Regions from separate parts of the Homo sapiens genome. Here region 1 is linked to region 2. The links are contacts of gene promoters, found by promoter capture Hi-C in human tissues and cell types (Jung and others, 2019). All regions are on one chromosome and are shown on one strand. The core of a region is centred on a gene start or on the middle of the fragment in contact, and the rest is flanking DNA. Distances in the headings are between cores, read along the strand shown. Region 1 has its middle 7.8 kb from the start of KDF1. Region 2 holds the start of SLC9A1 (solute carrier family 9 member A1).

Evidence for each region. Contacts are between HindIII fragments. The study calls those that stand out against the background at their distance.
Region 1: a fragment that was not itself captured here is called in contact with the fragment with the promoter of SLC9A1 in region 2 in 4 of the 25 tissues and cell types used here (IMR-90 fibroblasts, aorta, heart right ventricle and 1 more).

What each region holds. Positions count from the first base shown.
Region 1 is chr1:26,965,396-26,971,222 of GRCh38, forward strand. No RefSeq gene overlaps it. Among named protein-coding and RNA genes, the nearest start is that of KDF1, 7.8 kb to the left of the region's middle. RefSeq lists a silencer at 1,336-2,036. The HindIII fragment of the contact is 6,129 bases long and covers 1-5,827 here.
Region 2 is chr1:27,151,652-27,157,867 of GRCh38, forward strand. It overlaps SLC9A1 (solute carrier family 9 member A1), which reads right to left and starts at 3,474. Exons shown (of 12, transcript NM_003047.5): 1 at 2,332-3,474. The coding sequence starts at 2,683. LOC102723760 (a long non-coding RNA gene) reads left to right here and starts at 5,910. Exons shown (of 3, transcript XR_426674.4): 1 at 5,910-5,975. RefSeq lists enhancers at 713-762, 4,369-4,868 and a silencer at 3,194-3,423. The HindIII fragment of the contact is 28,159 bases long and covers 1-6,216 here.

The DNA.
Region 1 (5,827 bases), core at 1,803-4,302, 190 kb before region 2:
TTTATTAATCAATTTAAGTAAATAAATTTTTATTAGTCAATTTAAGTAAATAAATAAAATTTTTTAAATAAATAAATAAATAAATAAATAAATAACAAAACAAGCCAGGCGCGGTGGCTCACCCTGTAATCTCAACACTTTGGGAGGCCGAGGTGGGCGGATCACCTGAGGCCAGGAGTTCGAGACCAGCCTGACTGACATGGTGAAACCCCGTCCCTGGTAAAAATACAAAAAAATTAGCCAGGCGTGGTGGCTCATGCCTGTAATCCCAGCTAATCGGGAGGCTGAGGCAGGAGAGTAGCTTGAACCCAGGTGGCGGAGGTTGCAGTGAGATTGCGCCATTGCACTCCAGCCTGGACGCCAGAGCGAAAATCTGTCTCAAAATAAATAAGTAAATAAAAATAAATAAACAAAAAATAACAAAACCAACCCCCTCCCTACAAAACAAACAAACAAACAAACAAACAAACAAAAAACAAACAAAAAATTGACACTCTTTGAAGCAAAACAGAGTACCTTATAGGTCCATCATTCAGCCGACAAAGGAGAGAGAGGTCTACTGGGGTGAGTTTTCCGGGTCACAACCTGCCTCTCCTGTGCGCTTTCCTTTACACTTTACAAAACAAACACATTTTTTACTTGATCCATATTACAGCCCTATGAGGTTGGCAATGTCATATTCATTTTTACAAGTGGGGAAACTGAGGCCATCAAGGTTAGACCATTTGCTCAAGGCCACACTTCTAATGAGTAGTAAAGCTGGGTGGGAACCCCATCTTTCTGACTCCCCATACAATGTTCCTCACTGTGCCCTCCTCCAAGCCCTTACAGCTGTGTCTGGGTTTCTTTCTTTTTTTTGAGACAGAGTCTTGCTCTGTCTCCCAGGCTAGAGTGGAGTGGCGTGATCTTGGCTCACTGCAACCTCCGCCTCCCAGGTTCAAGTGATTCTCCTGCCTCAGCCTCCCTAGTAGCTAGGACTACAGGCGTGTGCTGCCACACCTGGCTAATTTTTTGTATTTTTAGTAGAGACGGAGTTGCATCGAGTTAGCCAGGATGGTCTCAATCTCCCGACCTCGTGATCCACCCGCCTCAGCCTCCCAAAGTGCTGGGATTACAAGCATGAGCTACCGCACCCAGCGTGTCTGGGTTTCTTTCTAAGCAGAGTGGACAACTGCCTCTGTCATCAGCCTCTTGAGCTCAGTTTTTCCTTTTGGCCTTGACCTGGGGCCATTGTCCCAATCCCCTGCTTTCCCCATGGTTGCTCCACTCTGTTCAATTTTTACTTTTCTGATCACCCTCCTCAGCCACCATTTAGGCTCCCAGGCTGGTGGTGACAGCTTGGTGGGAGGAGGGAAGTATCAAGGATGACGCTGGGCTTCTGGCTGTGTTACTGGATGAATGGAGATGACTGGGGAGGACCAGTTTGGGGTGTAAGAATGCAAACGTAGTGTTAGACCTATTGAATTTGATGGTCTGTAAGATAGCCCAGACATATCACCATTGTATCCATGGATGCCATTTTGGAGTGCTGTTTAGGAGCTGCAACACGTACAGCGCTGGGGCTGTGGAGGAGCCGTGGGTCAGGGGAATGTAGGCAGTGGTGTGTGGAGCCGGCTTCAGTGGACCTGCTTCCCTTCCTTCCCTGGGTATCTGCTGCTTGCCTCTGGTGTGCTTCTCCCATAAGGGCACTAGGGGACAGCACACAACAGTGGAAATTGCCAGAACTTCAGGGTCACAGGTTCTGACTTGGAATACTAGATGCTCAGCTGTGGTGTGAACTTAGCCTCTTTGGACCTCAGCATTTCCTTTTTTTTTTTTTTTCTTTTTTGAAACGGAGTCTCGCTCTGTTGCCCAGGCTGGAGTGCAATGGTGCGATCTTGGCTCACTGCAACCTCTGCCTCCTGGCTTCAAGCGATTCTCCTGCCTCAGCCTCTGGAGTAGCTGGGATTACAGGCACAGGCCACCACGTGCAGCTAATTTTTGTATTTTTAGTAGAGATGGGGTTTCACCATGTGACCGGGCTGGTCTCGAATTCCTGACCTCAGGTGATCCACCCACCTCGGCCTCCTAAAGTGCTGGGATTATAGGCGTGAGCCACCACGCCTGGCCTGGACCTCAGCATTTCTCATCCAAAAATGGTTTTAACATGAGGTAAGATAACACAGTGGTTTAGAGTGTGAGTTCTGGAGCCATAGGATCTGAACTCGTGCCCCAGCTCATACACGTACTTGCTGTGTGTTCCTTTGGCCAAGTTATTGAACTCCTCTGTGCCTCAGACACCTCATCTGTAAAGTGTGGGTGATAGCTTCATGTGGTGATTACAACCGAGACCAGCACATGGTAAGTGCTAAACAGATGTTAGCTATTTTATATTAACCCCCTTCCTCACCTCCACACCCCACCCTCTGGCTCCCTGCCCCGCCATTCTGGGGCTGGGACTCTCAAAGGCAAGACCACTGCCTCTGAGAATAAGCTGAGCAAATTACTGGTATTGACCACGACTGCCTACAACATGTTAGGTTTATTATGTGCCTTATTCCATTTAATCCCCATAATAAGGCCAGCAGGGTGGCTCACACCTGCAATCCCAGCACTTTGAGTGGCCAAGACAGGAGGATCGTTTGAGCTCAGGAGTTCAGACCAGGCTGGGAAACAGCAAGACCTTGTCTCTGCCAAAAAAAAGGAAAGAAAAGAAATTAGCCAGTATGGTGATGCACGCCCGTGGTCCCAGCTACTCAGGAGGCTGAGGCAGGAGGATCACTTGAGCCTAGGAGGTCAAGGTTGCAGTGAGCAGTGATCATGCCATTGCACTCCAGCCTGGGTGACAGAGCAAGACCCTGTCCCCCAAGCGAAAAAAAAAATCCTCACAATAACTCAGTAAACAGATCTCAAACTCCTGTTTTACAGCTAAGAAAACAGAGGCTCAGAGATTTAAACCACTTGCCCAGGGTCACATAGCTAGTAAGTGGCAGAGCCTAGAGCTGAGCCCAAGTTCATTCTGGTTCAGAGCCTGAGCTCTTTGCAGTGGCTCCTCTGGGCCCCCCAGAAACTGGGTCCTTAGAGGCCGGCTGCGTTGGCTCACACCTGTAATCCTAGCACTTTGGGAGGCCGAGGTGGGCGGATCACCTGAGGTCATGAGTTCGAGACCAGCCTAACCAACATGGAGAAACTCCATCTCTACTACAAATACAAAATTAGCTGGGCATGGTGGCTCATGCCTGTAATCCCAGCTACTTGGGAGGCTGAGGCAGGAGAATCGCTTGAACCCGGGAGGTGGAGGTTGCAGTGAGCCGAGATCACACCATTGCACTCCAGCCTGGGCAACAAGAGCGAGACTCCATCTCAAAAAACAAAACAAAACAAACAAAAAAAACTGTTACGCTTGTGGGGTGGGGGTGGCGGTGAAGGGGGTGAGGGGCAAGCGAACAGGGCTCTGTACTGTGTGAGAGCTGTGGAGAGAGGTGCAGGGGAAGCCCCCTGGAACTCCAGGCTGCACTGTTAGACGGGAGCCCCCAGGGATTCCTGGGGTTCTCTGTCTTGTGCCAGTGCTGCACCCCATTGGCTGGGCCTAGAGGGAGCTGCAGGCTGAGGAACCCTATCTTGTGCCAGGTTGAGGCAGGATCTGCTGGTTGGTTCCAAGTCCCTAGTAAAAGTATTTTCCAGAGTCCTTGTGCCAAAAGAAGCTTCACCCAACCCCCTCAATTTGCCAATGAGAAAATGAGGTGCGAGAGGGGAACGAGCTTAGTTGAGGTCACATAGTGAGTAAGGGGTGGGCCTTGGTGAATATGGACCTCTGCTTCCTCACTTGCCTCTGTGTGGTGTCAGGTTAAACCTGGGTTCAGATCCTGCCTTTACTGCTTGGTGCTTTGTGAGCCTGGACAAGTGACTCAGACTCTCTGGGCTTTAGTTTCTACATCAGTGAAATGCATTTATTCATTCAGCCCTTCTCTTGGCTGCACCCTCATCCCCCACCATACTACTCCCTCACTGTTACACACACACACACACACACACACACACACACACACACACACACACACACACAGAGGAAAGGCTACACATGGCCAAGCTGAGGCTCCTGGTCACTCAGAGAGAGCACTGCAGCTCTGGCCACTGAACACCACCCCCTACGTTCTGCCCACCCCAGCCAATGTCACTTCCAAGAGCCAATGCCTCTTGGAAGCCTTCCTAGAGAGCCCCCAGCTAGAAGGCTGTCCCCTATGCTAAGTCAAGGCCATCTGGGTCCCTAAGTGATCTTGACCTCCCCTGCTGCTTTTCCTGCCTTCAGACTGAAGCTCCCAGTGGGCAAGGTCTGTTCTGATTCATCCCTGAGTCCCCAGCACCCAGCCAGGGCAGAGCCCAAAGGCTCTGGCTGGGAGTGTTTATGGAGGGGGTAAGTGAAGGAGGCCCCTCCAATTCTTCCCCTTTCTCAGGAGCCCATGACCACCAGCTTTGCCTCCCAAACCATCGATGTGGGAGAAAGTGCCCTGGAGAGAGGGTCAAACAGACCTGGGATGGAATCCTGGTCCAGCCTTTTCCTAACTGTGTGAACTTGGGAAATGACCTCACTTTTCCGAGCCTCAGTTTCCTCTTCTATAGATAGCATTCCTGAGGAGGAGACATTTAAGCTGAGAATGGAAAGACCTAGATGGAAAGACCGAGAGGAAGAGTGTTCCAGGCAGGGTGAACAGCTGGTGCAAAGGCCCTGAGGTTGGGATAAGCTCAGCATGTTAGAGGAACAGGAAGGAAGCCAGTGTTGTCCGAGTGCAGTGAGCAAGGGGGAGAGGGACTTCTTTTAATCTTTTTTTTTGAGACGGAGTCTCATGCTGTCACCCAGGCTGGAGTGCAGTGGTGCGATCTCGGCTCACTGCAACCTCCACCTCCTGGGTTCAAGTGATTCTCTTGCCTCAGCCTCCTGAGTAGCTGGAATTACAGGTGTGCACCGCCATGCCTGGGTAATTTTTGTATTTGTAGTAGAGTAGGAGTTCATCATGTTGGTCAGGCTAGTCCCGAACTCTTGACCTCGTGATCTGCCCGCCTTGGCCTCCCAAAGTGCTGGGATTACAGGTGTGAGCCACCATGCCTGCCCGGGACTTCTTTTAATCTAAGGGATATGGGAACTGACTGGAGGGTGTTGAGCCAGGGAGTGGCCCTGGTTGCTGTATGGTGATTGCAGGAAGGCAATGCTTACGCGGGGAGTCCAGGTGAGAGATGATGGCACCTGGGGACATGGTGAGAAGTGGTCAGATCCATGAAATATTCCAGAGGCGGATCCCACAGGACTGGATGCAGAGGGTGAGGGAAGAGGGGACTTAGGGTATCCCTTATTTCAGTTGCTTATTGCTGAGAAACAAACTATCCCCAAAACTTAGTGGCATAAAACAACAATGATATATTATTTCTAAAAATTCTGTGGCTTGGTTGGGGCTCAGCAGGGCAGTTCTGGTTCCGCCTGGCTGATGCATGTGGCTGGGAGCTTAGCTGAGACTGGATCACCCAAAACGGCTTGTCTTCCTCCACGGCCTCTCATCATTCAGAAGTCTAGCCGACCGTGTTTTAGCGTGGCAGCTGGCCTCCAAGAGGACAAGCCCCAGTGTGCAAATGCTTATCAAGCCTCTGCTTGCTTCATGCTTCTTGGTGTCCCGTTGCCAAAACAAGTCCTACAGCCAAGCCCAGAGTCAACATGGGAGGGGACCATACAAGACCATGGTTCATTGGAGGCCACCAGTGTAACAGTTTAGCACCACCCCTACATTTGTGGTAGAAGGAAATGAATGAAATTCAAGGGTAGAGGGGAGTGGGTGGGGTTTGCCAGAGGTCATGGGGT
Region 2 (6,216 bases), core at 2,224-4,723:
CTGCGCCCAGCTTAGTTCCCCTTTTATACATGAGGAAACTGAGGCTCAGAGATGCTGCTAAGTGGCAGAGTGGTGGCTGAATTCCACACTGCAAAGGTGAAGCTGGGAAAAATGGGCTTTCATTTTTGAGGCCTGAACAGGGACTCTTCAGATCTTTAGACCACCTTTCTCTCCACTCATGGCCAGATGCTAGAACTCCTGTTTTCAGAGGCAGAAAAATGCCTTTCCAAGGCAGAAACAGACTTTTGGAAAGGAGACCACATCCAGCCTCATCATTTTACAATGGGAAAACTGAGGTCCAAGGCTGAGTGACTTGCCAGAGTTTCCAGAGTCAGTGGAATGACAGAAATATCACACCTGGAAGGGACCACAAAGATCAACTGATGGGTAGGGAGGCGTGACTGGTCCAAGGACAGAGGGAGGTAGGAAGAGAAGCCAGGTTTTCCTGACTTCTAGACTGATATTGTTGCCATGACACCATCTCTGCTCTCCAGCTGCCCAGGGTCCCGGGCACAGCACTTGGGTGGTGACAAAGCAGGCCAGGCCAAGCTGACCTCATTAGCACTAGAGATACCAGGCCTGCAGGGACAAACTTCTGACTGCCTAGAGTGGGGTCTCTGCAGTCATGCTGTCATCCCACCAGCAGCCACTGACACTCAAAGTGTGTCTGCCAGCCCTGAATGCCCTAATGTAATGCCAGGTGTGGTGGGCAGGTGAGGGGATCGGGGACAGGAGGCAATTTATAGATTGCACTTGTGAGGTCTCCTCCTGGTCTCACACAGTCAAATGACATCACTGTCACTTCAGCTTCTTACAGCAAATCAGACGACATTTCATGACTCAATTGGTGTGGTCAAATTGAGAGTCTTAACCATTTCACAGGTGAGGGAGACCTGCAGAAAAAGGCCTCAGCTATTCAAGGTCATGCATTTATGTCAGAATCAGTACACATGGTTCCCCTTGTCCAGTCCTTGATTTCTCTCCAGGAAGCTAACTGCCATCAAGGTATAGGTGCTGATGGCTTAGTTCCATGTAAGGCTCTGCTACTGTGACCAGCTTGGCACAAGAGCCCTGCACCAGGAACCCAGCTCCTGGATCTGTCAAATTAGAGGCACCACTTCCCTCCCGCTGCATGTCCCAGAGCCTGCCTCACACCAGCCCGGCAGCACCGCTCAGCTCCTGCATGTCCTTGGGAGAGCTGGAAGGTTTCCTGCCAAATTCCCAAACCCAAATCTCAGGCAGAGGGGACAGCAGAGTCCCAGGACCTCATGCCTTCCACAGCCAGCTGGGGGCAAGCTGAAAATGCAAAGGCAGTTGTCAAAGTCCCCCTGAACACCACTTTCAGGGACTTCTGGGCAATGTAGGCTCCAGTAAGCTCCCCCAATCACTCAGCAGAACAGAGTGCTCAGGCCTAGCAGGGAGACCAATACTCTGAGAGCAAATAAGTTGTCTGTTTCCTTCTCCCCAAAAGAAGGTTTCAAAGTCTCTTCAGGCCTGAACATCCCTAGGCTCCCCCATCTACCTCATCTACTTGATTGAGCAGCAGGCCAGACAGCACCCTGAGACACAGCCAGGCAGCGACCTGGGGGTGAGCTGGGGTCAGACCAAGCCTCAACCTCCTCTACTCTCCCTCCACTTCCAAAACAGACTTCAGAAATTTCCAGGGCCCCTTGTCCCACAGATTCTATAAAGTATGGCATTCCTGGGCCGGAAATTGACTCAGGGGCTCCTAACTAGCCTGGACAAGCAAAGCTGACAGATAACATTCTGGAGATGAAGGAAAGGTGGGAATATGGGGATCCCCTGTGTTCCACCACACTTGTAAGTTTCCTGTGCCCAGGTCTCCACTATGCTTAAACTCCTCAAGCAGGCCAAGTAGAAATATACTCCATCCTGGAACACGCTCCAGTGAAGCCTGTCATAAATTGCACTGGTTGCTGTTGACAGAGCAGAATGTGCCACTCGCCAGAAGACACTCCTTTCTGTCTCACACACAGCGGGGTGCCTGGCTCCCCTGGGGGTCTGGCCCAGCCAGAGGAGACTTGCCAGTCGTGGAAGCCTTACTGAAGGGACCTAGGATCAGAGGCATCCCATTCTCTAATCCTGCTCTCTTCTGTGCACAGTGCTGGCTCCAATCTTGGGAAGCCTCAGATCACAGATCAGAAGCCACAGAACTGGAGCCTGAGAAGGACCAAGGTGGCAGGATGGAGACTGCCTACTTTATGGGGGTAGTTCAGATCCTTACTCCTGGACAGCCTCAAATGGTGCGAGATGAGGCAAGAAGCTCACCAGTCTGGTGGCGGCCGCAGCATCGGAGCAAACGGGACTTACCTATCTTCATGAGGCAGGCCAGAAGGATCCAGAGGGAGATCTCGAAGGGGGTGCGCACGTGTGTGTAGTCGATGCCCAGGACTGGAAAGGCCTTGCGCGGCTTCATGCCATGATCAGTGACGGAATGATTAACAGGGCGGCTCTCTGGGGTGACCTCCGGTGGAGCGGTGGTGACATCCCCAATCGAGCGTTCTCGTGGTGGCTCTGAGCTTCGAATGGTGCTGGCAGTTGGGCTGAGCTGGAGGCCATGGCTCCTGAGAACAGGCAGCAGCCCCACCAAAGCAACCACCACGAGTAAGGAAGGGAAGATCCGATGTGGAGAGAGGCCACAGATGCCAGACCGCAGAACCATGGTGCTGCTTCCAGAGCCAGCCTCGACCTTACCCAAATGAGAGTAAAACCGGGCACATAGGTAGCAAAGGGTCAGCAAGTGGGAAGAGAGACTGGCGTAGTCTCTAGGAAAAGTTCATGTTTTAGAGAGGCATTTCCATGGAAGCAATTTTCTGGGGGTGGAGGGAGGCTGGGTTTGCAATCTGGAACTCCAAAGTGGGGAAAGGGGGCAAGGACCCAGGAACGACCACGAAAGGAGACCAAAAGGTCTGGAACTCCGGGCCTGGGAAGGGGGAGGACGGATGTGGGAAACTGAGCCCTAGGGATAGAGGAAGGGGCAGGATAGGGATAGTGCAAAGGAAAGGAAGAAGGAAGGCTGGGACCTTTGGCTGAGGAAAGTGACTGAGGAGCTGGGACTCTGGGCTGTGGGCTAAAGGAAGGGGTAGGGAGCCTGAGCTAAAGGAAGGGGACCGAAGGGGGTGAGAGCCAGTCCAGGAAAAGGAGAGAGGGGGCTGGGAGCCCAGGCTGAGAAGGAGTGAAACCGGGAAGCGGCCGGGAGCTTCTCCACCCAGAGAGGGGCAGGGGTCCAGGCGCGCCGGGCTGAGATTCCGGGGAAATGGAAAGAGGCGGAAGGCAGGCGGCCTGGCGGGAAGGCGCCTCGGCGCGGGCTGGGGGCGGCTCGCGGTGGGCCAGCAGCAACACGCCCCTCCTCGCGGCCCTGGCGCGACGCGGCGCTCCGCCCCGGCCCAGCTGCAGCTCCTCCTGGTCCAGCTCCAGAACTAACCCTAGCCCCGGCCCCGGCGGCAGCAGACTGAAGCCTAGCTGAGCCCGGCGCTGTCACTTATAGGCACCAGCGAGCAGCCGGTGCGGCGGGCTAGAGAGACCGTCGGCACCCGCCCAGCGCAGCGGCCCCTGTCGCCGAGGGAAAGAAGTATCGCGTAGGAAGAGGAAGGAGAGTCAGAGATGACAAAAAAAAAAAAAAAAAAAAGTCCTGAATATACAGAGAACCTCACTAACGCGAGTAAAATGCCGACTACTTACAAAACGATTTCACGTCCACATCTGCAGTCTCATAAGGGCTTTCGAATAATCCTGTGAAGAATGTATTATTAGTTTATGTATTTAGTTACCGTGTGACCTTGAGCAAGTTACTTAACCTGTTTCACAACTTTCTCATCTGTTAAGTAGAGACAGTAATAGTGACTATGTCAGAGGGATGATGTAATGACTGAGACAATCCGTGTAAACTATTTGGAATGCACCCTGGCACATTATTACAATTCCACTTTTACAGATGAGGAAACAGGTGAAGAGAGTCCCCTGGCTACTATGCAAGTAGTTGTATTGCTTACTAGGGCTGCCGTAACAAAGTATCACCCCAAACTGGGTGGCTGCAACAACAGAAATTGATTGTCTCACAGTTCTGGAGGCTGGAGGTCGGATCTAGGTGTTGGCAGGGTTGGTTTCAGCTGAGAGCTATGAGGGAGAATCTGTCCCATGCCTTTCTCCTACCTTCCAGTGGTTTGTTAGGACTATCTGGTATTCCATGGAGTTCTCCTGGTGTCTCTGTCTCTGCGTCCAGATTCCCCGCCCACACTTTATTTTTATTTTTATTTTTTTTGAGATAGAGTCTGGCTCTTGTTGCCCAGGCTGGAGTGCGGTGGCGCCATCTCAGCTCAATGCAACCTCTGCCTCCTGGATTCAAGCGATTCTCCTGCCTCAGCCTCCAGAGTAGCTGGGATTACTGGCACCCACCACCACGTCCAGCTAATTTTTGTATTTTTAGTAGAGATGGGGTTTCACCATGTTGGTCAGGCTGGTCTCGAACTCCTGACCTCAGGTGATCCACCCGCCTCGGCCTCCCAAAGTGCTGGGATTACAGGGGTAAGCCACAACCCCCAGCCAGATTTCCCCTTTTTATAAGGACACCAGTCATTGGATTAGAAATCCAACGTAATTACCTCATCTTAACCTGAACATCTTCAAAGACTGCATCCTAATTAGTCCATCTTCATAGGCACTGGGCATTAGGACTTCAACTTCTTTTGCCGGGACACAATTCAACCCACAACAGTGGCATGCTTTAAGTAGTGGAACTTAAATTTGAACCTATAGTTTGGTTGAAATTGGTGAGGTTCAAGGGATCATGGCTGTACAATGGAATCACTGGAAAGCTTTTTTAAAATACCATTGTCTAGGCCGGGCGTAGTGGCTGACGCCTGTAATCCCAGCACTTTGGGAGGCCGAGGCGGGCGGATCACGAGGTCAGGAGATCGAGACCACGGTGAAACCCGGTCTCTACTAAAAATACAAAAAATTAGCCGGGCGCAGTGGCGGGCGCCTGTAGTCCCAGCTACTCGGGAGGCTGAGGCAGGAGAATGGCGTGAACCCGGAAGGCGGAGCTTGCAGTGAGCGGAGATCGCGCCACAGCACTCCCGCCTGGGCGACAGAACGAGACTCCGTCTCAAAAAAAAAAAAAAAAAAAAAAAATTAGCCGGGCGTGGTGGCACATGCCTGTAATCCCAGCTAGTCAGGAGGCTGAGGCAAGAGAATCACTTGAACCCAGGAGGCGGAGGTTGCAGTAAGTCAAGATTGCACCACTGTACTCCAGCCTGGGCAACAGAGCGAGACTCTGTCTCAAAAAAAAATAAATAAATAAAAATAAATACCATTGTCTGATAAAATTAGCTGTGCTTGGTAGTCCTAGCTGCTTGGGAGGCTGAGGCAGGAGTATCATTTGAACCTAGGAGTTTGAGACTACAGTGAACTATGATCCACCACAGCACTCTAGCCTGGGCAACAAAGGGAGACCCTGTCAATCATAGTAATCATCATCATCATCATCTTTTGTAAAATATCATTTTCGGGGACCCACCGTCAGAGATTTAGATTCAATTACTTCAGGGTAGTGCCAAAGTATTTTTTTCAAAGGCTCTGATATACAACTAGGGTTGGGAGGTATAGAAATCACTGAAATGCTGTCCCTGTTTTGCAGAAGAGTACATTAAGGCCAAAACAGTCAAAGTGTCTAGCTCAAGGTCACATCACAAGTACTTGAGATTCAATTTAGTTTAACAAATGTTTACTGGGCCTCTTGACAGGGCTTTGTGCTGGGCTCTGGCAACACAGAGATAAGCCAGAGGGAGGAAGGAGGTGGTAGGAATTGGGAGGGGGCATAAAGTGGACATAATGAGGGCTTCTAGAATGCTGGTAATGTTCTATTTCTTTACTGGGTGATAGCTACAAAGGTTACAGCGACGTAGTTGTTTCGTGATAACTCACTGAAGACTCAAGATGTGTGCACCTTTTTCTAGGTATGCTATCCTTCCATGGAAAAATATATTAAAATAATAATAAGCTAGCAGCAGTGGCTCATGCCTGTAATCCCCGCAACTCAGGAGCCTGAGATGGGAGTATCAGTTGAGGCCAGGAGTTTAAGACCAACCTAGGCAACATAGGGAGACCCTGTCTTTAAAAAAAATAAGTAAAATAAAATAATAATATCCAGGTGCAGTGGCATGCACCTGTAGTCCCAGCTACTTGGGAGGCTGAGGC